Linked DNA regions of Homo sapiens: region 1 is linked to region 2. The links are contacts of gene promoters, found by promoter capture Hi-C in blood cells and fetal thymus (Javierre and others, 2016). All regions are on one chromosome and are shown on one strand. Each heading gives the region's core, a stretch centred on a gene start or on the middle of the fragment in contact. The rest is flanking DNA. Distances are from core to core; before and after follow the strand shown. Region 1 overlaps LRRC52-AS1 (LRRC52 antisense RNA 1). Region 2 holds the start of LMX1A (LIM homeobox transcription factor 1 alpha).

Region 1 (6,761 bases), core at 1,375-3,874, 210 kb before region 2:
GCCTCAGCCTCCCGAGTAGCTGGGATTATAGGCATGCGCCACCACACCTGGCTAATTTTGTAATTTTAGTAGACACGGGGTTTCACCATGTTGGTCGGGCTGGTCTCGAACTCCTGACCTCAGGTGATCCGCCCGCCTCGGCCTCTCAAAGTGCTGGGATTACAGGCGTGAGCCACCGCGCCTGGCTGTTGTTCTTAAATGTTAATCTCTTGGCCTAAATAGTCGGCCTGCTTAAAACATCAACCAGCCCTAACCCTTTCATCATCTGATTCTTGTCAAACACGGAGTGTTGTGTTGAGAATTCCCCACATTCTTAGTGGTTCCTCTGTACTCCTCAGTAGTATCAGAACTATTATTGCCAGAGCTGATTGACAGTGTGCAGTCTTCACCATCTGGCTCCTTGCAAAGAGCGGATAATCCTTTTAAAGTCTTAATAGTAATAGATGATTTGTTTGGCCTTATTTTCTAACATTAGCTTTTAGACAGACTGTGTCAAATCCACAGGTTTTGAATTTGCATCCTAGCCTAGAGATGGAGAGCAGTTACTTAGAAACAGGAGAGCTGAGAACAGGGTCATGCAAAATAAGATTTGGAAAAATGTATTTTGCTAATTTCCCTAACATGGAAGTCTTTTTATCTGTACCTAGTGGGAGAGTAAGTTGGTAGAGAAAACGTGAAACGTGGTGTCAGGAAGACCTGGGTTGCTGAACATCTCAGTTGTGCTGGGGACTAGCCAGTGAAACAGGACAACTGTGAATCTTTCTAAGCATTAGTTTTTTTAACCCATACAATGAGGACAGTAGTATCTTTCAAAGTTGTGGAGTGATTTGTGAGTTAGAAATCATTCTAAAATTATTAGGTAGTGTTCTATGTGGAGCCCAGTCCTTTCTTCCTCAGGTGGGCCGGTGTTGAGGAAATGTAGGGAGGTGGGTGGGGTTGTACATGGAAGGGTTGCTTGTGAGGTATCCTCAGCCCAGTAACGACCTTGCAATCTCAGAAACAGCTGCTGTGTAGATGGGCTTGGCAAAGACCCGGCAAAAGGAGAAACTTCAACAGATGGGCTCAGGGGAGGTGACCAGACACTGCTTCCCTCCTCCCCTTTTGTTAACCTCAGGTATAGAAGGTTGAATTACTCAGAATCCTCCCTTAATGGTGTGTTATCATCCTTGATCCAGACTAGGCTCCTCTCTTATTTTGTTTAATCCCCTTTATCGCCAATTCCCACTCATCATTTTCTGCATGTGCATTCATATAATGTGTTTAAAAGTGTATTTAAAATAGTGCCTTTTTTGGGACAGGTTTTGCTCTCATTCTTGGGAGACATCAGTGAACAAAATAAGCAAAAATGCCCATTCTCAGGGAGCTTATATTCTAGAGGTGAAGGTGGGGATGAGAAGACAGTACTTATTGCCTTTTAGACTAGGATACAATTTAGTTATTATAATTGATTATTGTCTAAGTTAAAAATTGAGCAGGGTAAGGGAAAAGGAGTGTGAATGCATGTGTAGGGTACTTTGAAGGGTTACAAGCCCAGGAAGAGGGAAGAGCCAGTGCAAAGGCTCTGTGGCAGCATCAATGCCCCATATCATTTCATGGCAGCAGGGTGGCCAGTGAGGCTGGGCAGGGTAAGCAATGGGGTAGTGATAGAAGATGACATCAGTGAGGTAAAGAGGTGGTGGGGGTAGGGGTGGAGGCACATCATTTAGGGCCTGGTGGGAGATTGTGAAGACTTTGGCTCTTATTGTGAAGGAAATAGGGAGCCATTTCAGGATGCTGAGTGTTATAGAGTGTTCTCATTATATTTATTCTTTTTTCCCTACTCAGCTGTATTCATCTTGTTGCTAGATGTATACCTAGTTATTTATTTCTCTCTTCTTTTTTCTTTTTTTTTTCCTTTTTTTTTTTTTTTTTGAGACGGAGTCTCACTCTGTCGCTCAGGCTGGAGTGCAGTGGCATGATCTAGGCTCACTGCAAACTCCACCTCCTGGGTTCACGCCATTCTCCTGCCTCAGCCTCCCAAGTAACTGGGACTACAGGTGCCCGCCACCATGCCTGGCGATTTTTTTTTTTGTATTTTTTAGTAGAGATGGGGTTTCACCATGTTAGCCAGGTTGGTCTTGATTTCCTGACCTCATGATCCTCCCACCTCGGCCTCCCAAAGTGCTGGGATTACAGGCGTGAGCCACCACAGCCTGCCCCTAGTTATTTATTTGTAACTGTCCTATAGTAATCCACAAATTTTCCCTAGTCAGTCTTCCACACCCCTGCCATTACAAATAATACTGCCATGGATGTCTTCATATGTGTTCCCTTGTGGACTTGTATGATCATTTCTGTGGAGAAACACCCAGGAACAAGTGGATTTGCTGGGTCCCAGGTCCCACTGAATTTAATTTATTAGTGCCAGATGACTCTCTAGGCTGGCTGTGCCCATTTAGAGTCCCTTCAGCAAGGCATGAGGGTTCCTGCAGCCCAATATCCTTGCCAAAATGCAACATCCAGATTTCAAAGCTTTGCAAATCTAATAGAGACACAGTGACATCTATTGTTTTCATCTGCATTCTCTGATTACTGATGAGCATCAGCATATGCTTGCTAGTTTTTTTTTCATCTCCTATCCATTGCCTGTTCATATTCTTAGCCAGTTTTTTCTATTGGAGTTTCATGCTTTTCTTTTTGATTTGTAGGAGCTCCTTGTATGTTCTGGATATTATCCGGAGTTGTTTTTAGAAGCTTAGATTTAGAGGTGGCCTTTGAGGTAATCTAGTCTAACCACTTCATTTTACAGTTGGGGAAACTGAGACTCAAGCAATAAAGTGATTTTTTTCAGAGTACATATAGAGTGGAAAAGCTGAGACTCGAAATCCCTATATCATATTTAGTGGGAGGACTTGCACTGAGGCAGGAATGAAAGTCAAAGGTAAGCAGGAGCTGCAGGGCATTGCTGCTTCCCCACGATCTGCATTTCTTTGCAGGCAGAAAAGCCACTTTACCTGACTTGTTGGCCAAGGCTAGCTCTGGACCCAAGAGACCCTGGGTCTGATAACCATTTCCTCCTCCCATTCGCACTGCCATGACCTTATTTCAGGACTTTATCCTCTTGCTTGACTTGTGTTTCTCAAATTTTGGTGTGTATGAAATTCACCTAGCGAACTTACTAAAATGCGGGATACTGCCTATCCTTCCTGAGCATCTGAAGGACTGAGAGATCGTCAGGATCTTGATGTGGGTCCATGAGCCTTCTTTGGAGAAACATTTACCACTTTCGTGAGCTCCCTGATTGGTCTTCCATCTCCATTTTCTAGTCACCTTCATTTGTCTTCCAGGCTCCAAACACAACTACAGCTTTTCCCCTAACACATCTGTTTGCCATACCTCCATGCTCTAACCCTTACCATCCATTTGAAATGCTCCTTCCTGTGTGAAATTCTATGATTTTTCAAGATGTAGGTCAAGCATAATCTCCCCTAAAAAGCCCTCCTTGATTTTTCTGAGAATTAAGTGCAGGGGCCTATTGCAAATGGGGAAATGTGGCAGGTGGTATGAGTGTCCCACTGACTAGTACCCTACCCTTTGTAATCACAATGGACATCTCACCATTTAAGGTGGTTAAAGACAAAAGACACCTCTCAGAGGAAAGGAGCAACATCCTAGACCAGCTGGTCTTTCCTTTAAAAAAATTCATTTTTATCAGATATGTATGCACATAGTTTAAAGAGTAGCAGTTGTACAAATTTTTTTAAATTAAATAGCAGTCTTCCATTTTTTGTCCCAGTGTTTTTTCCTCTCCAGAGGCAAGCACCTGGAACTCTTTTTGCTGATTTCTTTTGATATGTCTAAAAATTATGCCTTTATTGCTCCCATTTGATTTTTCAGTGTTAGGCACCAGCTACCGACTTTCCACTGAGACAATGAGGATATAACCCTCCATCCTCCCCATATCCCTTCCCCATATTTTATTGCCCAGCACATTTTTGCATCCAGTATGCCATGTGGTGGTTTTCTCCTCCTTGGTGACTGATGCTGCCAGCCACCTGGCTGTCCAAATCAGAAATTTGGGCCCTCTCCTTAACTCCTTCTTCTTTCTCTGAATCCTCCCTCCATTAATTCTTCCCCAACATCCCAAATCCAGTTACTCATGAAATTCTGCCAACTCTACCTCTGACATAACCTCACAAATTCATCCAGTTCTGTTTGTTCCCACAGCCACTGCCTTTGGTCTATCACCCGCACCCCCTGCTAGAATACTGCAATACTGCTAGTCTCCCCATTTTCCGTCATGCCTCCCTCTGGTCTCTTCTTCACCTTACAGCCAGAGTGAGTTTTCTCAAATACAAATTAACTAGACTTGGTGGTTCTCATGCTTACAACTCTTGAGTGTACTTCATGAGCAAGTCCCATATCTTATCCTGGTGGGGCAGAGACAATTCCTTGTTTTCCACAGCATTTTTGGCACACAGACTATGTTTCTCTTCAGTAAGGTTGGGACCATGTGAAATGTGAGTTGAAGTGACACGTGTCATTTCCAGGCCCAGTAGTTACAAGCTGTGTGCCTATGGCCTCTCTTTTCTCTTCTGGAGTGGACCTCTGAGGCCATGTTCTAGGTGCTGGAGCTACAGGGTGGGAGGGCTCCCTACCCACATGGGACTCTACATGAGTGACAAATTAGTCTTTGTTGTGGTAAGCCAATGAAACTTTGGGGTTAATTTGTTATTGTAGCATAGCCTATCATAATCCTGACCAACACAGGGATATAAAAGGCCCTTCAGGATCTGGCCTTGCTTCTCTCTCTAACATTATTTCTCTTTTCTTCCTTCCCTTATACTCTATATTCCAGTTATAATGGCATGCCAGGCTCTTCCTCACTTCCAGGCCTTTGTAGATGCAGTTCTTGTTGCTTAGGATGTCTTTTTGTCACCCACATCCACTTTACCACTTTGTCTGGTGAATCTCAACTCAACTTTCAAGCCTCAGTGTAGATGCCTCTTCCTCTGAGAAGCCCTCCAGGATGCCCTACTGCCTCCTGGTTGAGGCGCCCTTCCTTTGGGTCCCCTTAGAATACTGTGCCGGCCCTTCACTTACCACTCTGTCTTGAAATGGACTTTTTTCTTGTTTCTCCACCAAACTGAACTGGAAGCTCCTTGAGCTTTCACCACTTTGCCACGTTCACTGTGATCTTCCCAGGCCTTGTCAGAGTAGGTGCTCAGCCCATTTTTGTGGAATTACTTATTGTTGGAAGATCCAGGCGAAATCTTAGGGGAGAAGCTATCATGAAAAGCTGCAATTCACATTTCTTTTGCCAAGACTTTCTTGGTAGTTTAAATTCCTGAGAGACAATATTGATTAGTGATTTGGAGGAAACAGTCTATAGTCAGCCACAGCTGGTTTCACTTCTGGTTGTACTAGATGTGTAATGTTTAGCAAGTTACTTACCCTCTTAAACCTCAGTTTCAGGATCTGATGGGAATAATGCTTACCTCATAGGATTGTTGTGATGATTCAATTAGTTGAGATGTGTGTGTTTGTGTGTGTATGTGTATGTGTTTGTGTGTATGTATATGCACTTAGAACAATGCCTAGCATATAGAAGTGCCCAATAAAGTTAGACGTGTTATTATATTAAAAATATCCTAAATGCAAACGTGGTATCCTAGATTGGGTCTTGGAACAGAGAAAAGGGCATTGTGGAAAAAAAAACTAATGAAATACCAATAAAGTGTGGAGTTTAGTTAATAATAGTGTTCCAATATAAATTTTTCAGCTTTGATAAATGTACCACTGTAATGTGAGATAACGTTAGGGGGAACTGGGTGAGAGGTATGTGGGAACTCTGTGCTACCTCTGTAGCTTAGTCCAAAGTTATTCCATAATAAAAAGTGTATTAAAATAAATTCTTATTATAATTGATATTCATTGTATTCTCAAAATATCCCTATATAAGCACTGCAGTGATTGCCACTTACAGATGAAGAAACTGAGACACACAAAAGTTAAATAACTTGCCCATGGTCACTCTTAGTTCAGGATAACAAAGTAGGAATGATTGGTGGGTTGGGATTTAAATAGAATGCAGTAATAAACACTTATTTTGTGGAAGTTATCACTCTATATGCTGTGTCAATAGAGAACACTGAAGGCAAATGGTCTCTGCTCTCAAGGTCATTATAAGTAGGAAGCCCAAGTTCACACAGTGCTAAGTGCAGAACTGGGGATAGAGATCCAGCTCCTGAGTCTGGACCCATGCTCTTAAGCATTGCACCAAACAAACTGGAGGGCAAGTGGTGATTAGAGTCACATGCAATTCACAGTGGAAGTGCAGATGTAAAAACGGGTCTGGTTGGGGGTTTAGAGACAGCTAGTTTCATGGGTGGGGGTTTGATCTGAGTCTTGAACATGAGTATAATTTGATCTGAGTAGAGCAAAAAGGAAAACCTGGAATGGGTCTTGGGGCCTGGGTTGAGCCAACCCTCTCTTCACTCCCTTTGCCACATGTCCCTGAGCGCAGGACATGCTTGTGTACACTTGGCTATTCTGTTTAGTGCTCAGTGATAAACAGTAGCTTGTAGTGAGAGGGCATGGACTTTGGCATGGGTCCAGCAGTTGCTCTGCTCTTACCAACTATGTGATCTTGAGCTGGTGACTTCATCTCTCCATGCCTCAGGAAAACGATGGTGACAATGACCACCTGACCTTGTTGTCACGCACATTAGCCCAGGGGGAAATGTGCATAAAGCTGGGCACAATGCTGGGTACTTGGGATG
Region 2 (6,372 bases), core at 3,553-6,052:
CTTTTTCCACTCCTGACTGTAGTGAGAGCTCTACTCATTCCTCAGCCAAGTAAAGGGCATTTGTTCATCAATTGTATGTGTCTAGGGTCTGCACTAAAAGTGATGTGACTTATGATGTGAGTTAAGGCATGCTGAGCTATGGCATGAAGTAGACGATGACCTCAGGGCATTTGTACTTAGACAACAAACATTCATGGAGACTCTTCAGTATGTGAAGCACTGTGCCATGCTGGGGAGAATCACAGGGGAGTCTGACGTGGAACCTTTTCTTAAGGAGCTCATGAGACAACAGGAAGATAAAGTGGGCATGTAGATAATTCTACTGCAAGGTCCAAAGAATGTGCTGCTTTCAATGGTACTCTTGTTAGCCTGGACAAGTCTCCTCCTTGCCTAGGGCTGTCCTTGCCAGGCTGGAGGGAGAATCTGCCTTAAGCTTAGGGAACAATATCCCCATTTGCATTGTCAGACTTTCCTCCTATTCCAGCAGCTGGTTTGGGATGGCCCTTTCACCCTAGAACATGAGAGGCACCTGGTCCTCCAGCTCTGTTGAGAGATCTGAATGTCAACACAGGACTGGGGGATTCACATGAAAATAATCCAGGTAAGGGTAGTGTGTAGTTCAAGTGTGTCCCCACAACCATGAGCCAGTCTTTGGCTGTCCTCGTTAGAATATTGCCATTCTAGGCGGTAATGTTCCTGCTTCTTTTCCTCTTGCTTGAAATGCACTTTGACATTTTTAAACAAATAACACAATTTTCCCTTTGTATTTCCCTTAATAAAACACAGAAATGAGAGCGAGAAAAGGAAAGTAAAAAAATGTGTTCCTGTCATCTCCACTCTATAGCAGGATGTCTGTCCTCCTCCCTTTTTTCTTCCCTCTCACCAAGCATTGGTCTCTCCTCTACCCTCACTCCTCTCCCTAAATCTCAGCCACAAAGACTCATGTATCTGATATTTTTGCTTCTCTGTTTTCTGCCATAGAAGGGGTAACTCCACAGCTATTTGGCATGTCCCACCCCCATCTTCTACAAATCGCTATTGGACTGAAGACAGATGACAGAATTGGAACAGGATCAGGGAAACCTTCTACTTGGAGAAGTATCCCCAAGTTACAAGGTCTTGCTACCCCTGGGACCCACAGATACACCCATTGATTGGTCCTGGCCTGTCTTCCTCCAGTGATGGCGCTTCCAGACCAGCTTGGCAAGGGCCACATATTTCTCTCTCAAAACAAGGCACTAGGCTTAAGACATAGTTCCTGGATCTCTTGGGATCTGCTTGAAGTTGCAAGATTTCTGATACAACAGCTACCTGTCTCTTAGCAGGGATAAATTTCACACTTGGATTCAAACATCAATTGTACAAACGCGATATGGCAGAGATGGGCCCTACCAGCAGACCATGTGGAAAAGGACTGAGGAGGTTTTATTAATGACACATAAGTGTGAGTCAACAGCAGCCATTGAAATGCACACAAGGCCGGGCGTGGTAGCTTACACCTGTAATCCCAGCACTTTGGGAGGCTGAGGCGGGTGGATCAAGAGGTCAGGAGATCTAGACCATCCTGGCTAACACGGTGAAAACCCATCTCTACTAAAAAGACAAAAAAATTAGCTGGGCGTGGTGGTGGATGCCTCGGGAGGCTGAGGCAGGAGAATGGCTTGAACCCGGGAGGCGGAGCTTGCAGTGAGCCGAGATCGCACCACTGCACTTCAGCCTGGGCGGCACAGAGAGACTCCATCTCAAAAAAAAAAAAAAAAAAAAAAAAAAAAAGAAAATGCTCATACAAAATCAGGAACATTAATGGGTGTTATATTGCTTGAGAAACACCCTGAATACACTATCACTGGAAACTCACAGCAGGCCTGGGTGCCATAATTTATAAGAGACAGGAAAACTGGATCAGATTCGAAGACTGGGCAGGAGAGTGAGGCCAGCTCTGCCTTCATCTAAAAGTTTTAGAGGCAGGATTTGACTTCCTGAATGGCTAGCCCCGAGGAATCAATGGAACAGAGGGTGGAAACTTTAGGGAAATGAATTTTGATCCATTACAAACTAAATGGTTGGACCACATGAGCTTTAAAATCATTTCCAACTCTAAACGTGTAATCTTTTGAGTCCCCTCTGAAGCCTATTCACCTCATTCCCATGTATTCTCAGAGTACTTCTTTTTGATAAAAGGGAGAAGATGGCTGATTCTTCATAAATGGCTTCTGGGCAGTGGCTCTGTGGCATCTTCTTTCATTTAAAAGGTAAAATAAAAGTGTTTGAGTTTAAATCACAAGGAAAAACACGAGGCATGGTTAGGAGGATCTTTCATAGAGGGGTCAGAATGATCCACCTGTGATCGTCTCACCCATCCATGTCACTGAGTTGGATAAGGCCAAACTGAAACAATCCTTGGGTAGGAATGGGATTCATGACTCCTACTTCATTGAAAGAGGGCAAATAAATCACAAAAGAGAAAACTCCGAATAAATAAGTTTTATCTTTATTGGTTTAGACACATCACTTAAACACATCAGCCAAGACTATACCTAGGCAACCACTGCTCAGCACCTCATATGGATCTGTTGGTTCTACTGCCTACCCCACTGGCCAAAGCTACCCCACTGCCTACCCCACTGGACTGGTTTCACAGACTTTAGACTGTGAGGGCCTGACCAACCACATAATGTAGACCCTTCATTCCAGAGAGGTATTGACATCTAAAGAGGTGAACTGATGGCCCAGACCAATTCAGTGGCAAAGCTGGGAATGGAACGGAGGTCCTTTGATTCCTGACCCTTCACTGCAGTGCCTTCTGACTGTAGTGAGAGTTCTATTCATTCCTCAACCAAGTAAAAGGCATTTGTTCATCAATTGTATGTGTCTAGGTCTGCACTAAAAGTGATATGACTTATGATGTGATTTTTGAGGCACCGTCCCCATCCTGAAGTGCCCAATGGCTGGGGAGACATTCTCACCAAAAACCTGTGTGATCTACACTAATCAAGCGGCCTTGTGGGTGGATGTAAGAATTGTTTGAAAGATTTGAGTTTCAGGTCAAATGACAATCTATCTACTTTCAGGATATTCACTAAAAGGAATAGTCTTACCACTAGTTAAAATGTATTTCATATATTTCATATAAGACCTTTAGTGAAACCAAAATTCTGCCGGGTATTTACATAAAAACATTCCTTATGGTTGTATCTGCCCTATTCCATTTTTTTCTTGCTTAACTTCTATTTCACATATTATCCTAATAATACTTGTAGTTTGTATTTTTTTACACCCTGCTCTACCTGGGGTGACAGAAAGGACAGAGGTCAGGTGTTAGGAGACATGCCACTAGCCATCTGGGCAACATCAGGGAAATCTCCCAGCCGTGCTAAGCTCCAAAGATTCATCTGAAACAAAAGATAAAACTGTTCTGCCTACCTCACAGGTTTGCTGTAAAGATCAAGCAAAATCATGTATGTGAAAATGCCTGTAAAGCAGCATTCGAATATAACGTATTAGCCTCTTTGCCATTTCCCCTCTTTCTTCTGGAGTCATATTCAGTGTTTGGCTTGTGCCTGCTGGCAGAAAGCACTTAGAATGGCTTTTTTAGTGCTTAGTGGGGTCGCTGCTCCTAAGCACATTAGAGCAAGTTGCTGCCAGCACTTTTTCTTTAGGAATAAAGAAGTGGCTCTGTCTTTGGAGGAGGTAATAGAAAAACCCTGGCTATGTGGCATCTCCTCTGCCTGAGTTCACCATGTCAAACGGCCTGCCAATTTCATCTCAGTTCAGTTCAGTTTAGGAACTGAAGGTGCCCCAGAGAATCACACTGAATTGAACTGAACCTTCCCATGGTATTCAGATGATGGGACTCGGATTCCATGAATTCCCTTCCATTTCCCTCAACTGTAAGATTGGGACAACAATTGTCTCCACTTCATGGGGGTTGTTGTAAAGATTAAATGAGGTGACTGTGTAACAAAGCTGGCACAAAATAAACGATAAACGCTAGCCAGCATTGTAATTTATTTATTGAGCATCCACTTGGGGTCACACAACATGCTTACCTCCTGGGCTATACAGACGGATAAGGCCTTATTCCTGCTCTGGAGGGGGCTAAAGGTCTGTTATTGTAAATTAAAGTTAGGAGGTGCAGATAATTCACATTTCTCCCCAGATACTTTGTTCCCCTAACAATGTCCCTTTACCTGATTTCCTGTTGAGTGTCATTGCAAGTTCATCATCTGGGGGGCAGATCCCACCTAGTGTCTCCCAAGAGCATGATTCTTAGGCCGTGAGTCCCATGGCCTCTGTACGCCCCATGAGTGAATATGGTTCGACCTTAAAGGAAGTTGGAAACTGGCATGAGCCCTCGGGTGATGAGGGGTTTGAGGAGCTAGGAGCTGCTGGGCCCACATCTACTGGCGCTAAACAGCTTCTCAGCGCTTCCCGGGGCCCGGGTAAGGATTGCAGCGCTTTTATAGCAGCAGTTGGAGAGCGGCGGGGGAATCCTCGTGGCGGCACCGCTGTCCAGGAGGCGCCGACATCTCCGCAAAGGCCCAGTCGGGGTGAGGGGCACTGGGGGGCGACCGGGCCAGAGCGCCCCGAGGTAACAGTTACACGTGGAGGGGAGGAAACTTAGCGTGTCCGAGAGCTCCCAGAGGCGGAGGGGCTCAGAGGGCAGCGGCCGTGTGGTGGCCGCGCAGCCAGGCTGGGAAAGGGAGCACCACGGCCCCGCCACGGGACGCGCTGCCAGCCCCCCGCCCAGCGCACCCCACCCCCTCTCCGCCGCCGCGCACGCAGCGCCGCGGCCCCTGTCAGAAGCTGCAGGATCCGCCCCGGCGAAGCAGGGCCGACTCGCACCCAGGACCCTGGGCCTCTGCCTTCCCTCCTAGCCTTGGAGAAGCAACTGGCCCTCTCCTCCCGCTGAGGAGCGACGCGGGCTGGTAGGACGTCCCGGGAAGGCCGGCAGCTCGCGACCACGTCCCGGCCCAGCCTGGGCGCGCCGAGGAGCAGAGCCAGCGGCCGGCGTTCGCTCCGGCTCCCTCCCCGGCGCTCCGAAGCCGAGGGCGGCTCCTCCGGCTGCAGTCTCGGGGGCGACGCCTTCCCGGGCAGAAGCTTCCAGCAGCGCTCCGCAACTTCTCTCTGCTCCAGTCACTGGGAGAGAGCTCGCCTACCAGGTAAGTAAGGCTGCCCGTGCCTAGGCTGTGGCTCGGGCGGGCGTGTTTCTGAAAGTTGACTTGAAATGCATCCAAGAGTGAGCCGGGCCAGCCGGGGCTCCTCCCCGAGGCGACTCTTTTGCTTCTGCAGACATTCCCGGCACTGGCCGACTGGCGGGAGGACCTCCCCGCGCGCCCCGCACACCGGCTCCTGCGCGCACCCCAACAGAGCGCAGCGCCAGGAGTCCAGAAGCGGGCGGGACGCCCTCCGGGTCCCTTACAGTGCCCCTTCTCGACCTGGGGCAGGTGAGGGCCGCAACGGGGCGGCTGGGACGCGGGATTGCAAACCCCATCGTCCCGCGTGCCTGGACCCGGTCGCTCGAGGGAGGGTACCCACTCTTTATATACCCAATATACCCCAGTAGCTGCGTTCCTGCAGAGACGTCCCGAGGGCCCACCTTCGTATAGGTTGGGGCGGAGTCGGATTCGGGATGGAAAACCTGGGGCAAGGGATGTAGGTGGGGGTGAGGGGGGCAGGAGAAGGAGAAACGCAGTTGGGGGGCGGAGGCCTAAGTACATAACGTGTTGACTTCAAGTGAAATCAGATCAGCCAGAGCAGTTCGCTGTGACTGATCTCTCCTCCCACCCTACATTCTCTTGGCTGGACCCTATCCTCCTGGCTGATTCTGGTCGCCCTGGACACTCCCTCAGTTCTTTCCCAGGAGTGCGGTGGCTGCTGGCGCCGAGTCCCAGCGGGCACGGACGTCAGACGCATCGTTTCTTCTCCTCTACAGGTCCTCCCGGCCCGGCCCGAACATGCTGGACGGCCTAAAGATGGAGGAGAACTTCCAAAGCGCGATCGACACCTCGGCCTCCTTCTCCTCGCTGCTGGGTGAGTGTTCAGGCCGTGCGTCCTGGGCGCACTCTCTTTCCGCTTGGCGCTGAGCTCTGGAGCCCCGCTCTCTGGGACCTGGTCCGCGATAGGGAAGCTAGCGCCCCTCTTCATACACTAAATTGAGCCCCATCACTATCTGTCCGTCAGTGCTTGTGGGTCGTCCCTACCCAAATAAATCCAACAAGCCGCCCCAGGCCTCACGCACTGGGCACCGAATTCCCCAAAGCCGCGAGGGGCGGGCGAGCTTGTTCGTAGGCGTCTGAGTGGCAAGTGATTAAAAATACCCAGGGCTGGATTTTTAATCTCGGAGCTGATCGACGTCTCATAAATGCCGCC

Evidence for each region. Contacts are between HindIII fragments. The CHiCAGO score rates a contact against its expected background, and 5 or more counts as called.
Region 1: a contact is called between a fragment that was not itself captured here and the fragment with the promoter of LMX1A in region 2, in 1 of 17 cell types (total B cells). The highest score is 5.5, in total B cells.

What each region holds. Positions count from the first base shown.
Region 1 is chr1:165,564,526-165,571,286 of GRCh38, reverse strand. All of the region lies in intron 3 of LRRC52-AS1 (LRRC52 antisense RNA 1), which reads left to right. Among named protein-coding and RNA genes, the nearest start is that of LRRC52-AS1, 14 kb to the left of the region's middle. The HindIII fragment of the contact is 222 bases long and covers 2,514-2,735 here.
Region 2 is chr1:165,355,145-165,361,516 of GRCh38, reverse strand. LMX1A (LIM homeobox transcription factor 1 alpha) reads left to right here and starts at 4,802. Exons shown (of 9, transcript NM_177398.4): 1 at 4,802-5,162; 2 at 5,936-6,033. The coding sequence starts at 5,958. The HindIII fragment of the contact is 4,667 bases long and covers 436-5,102 here.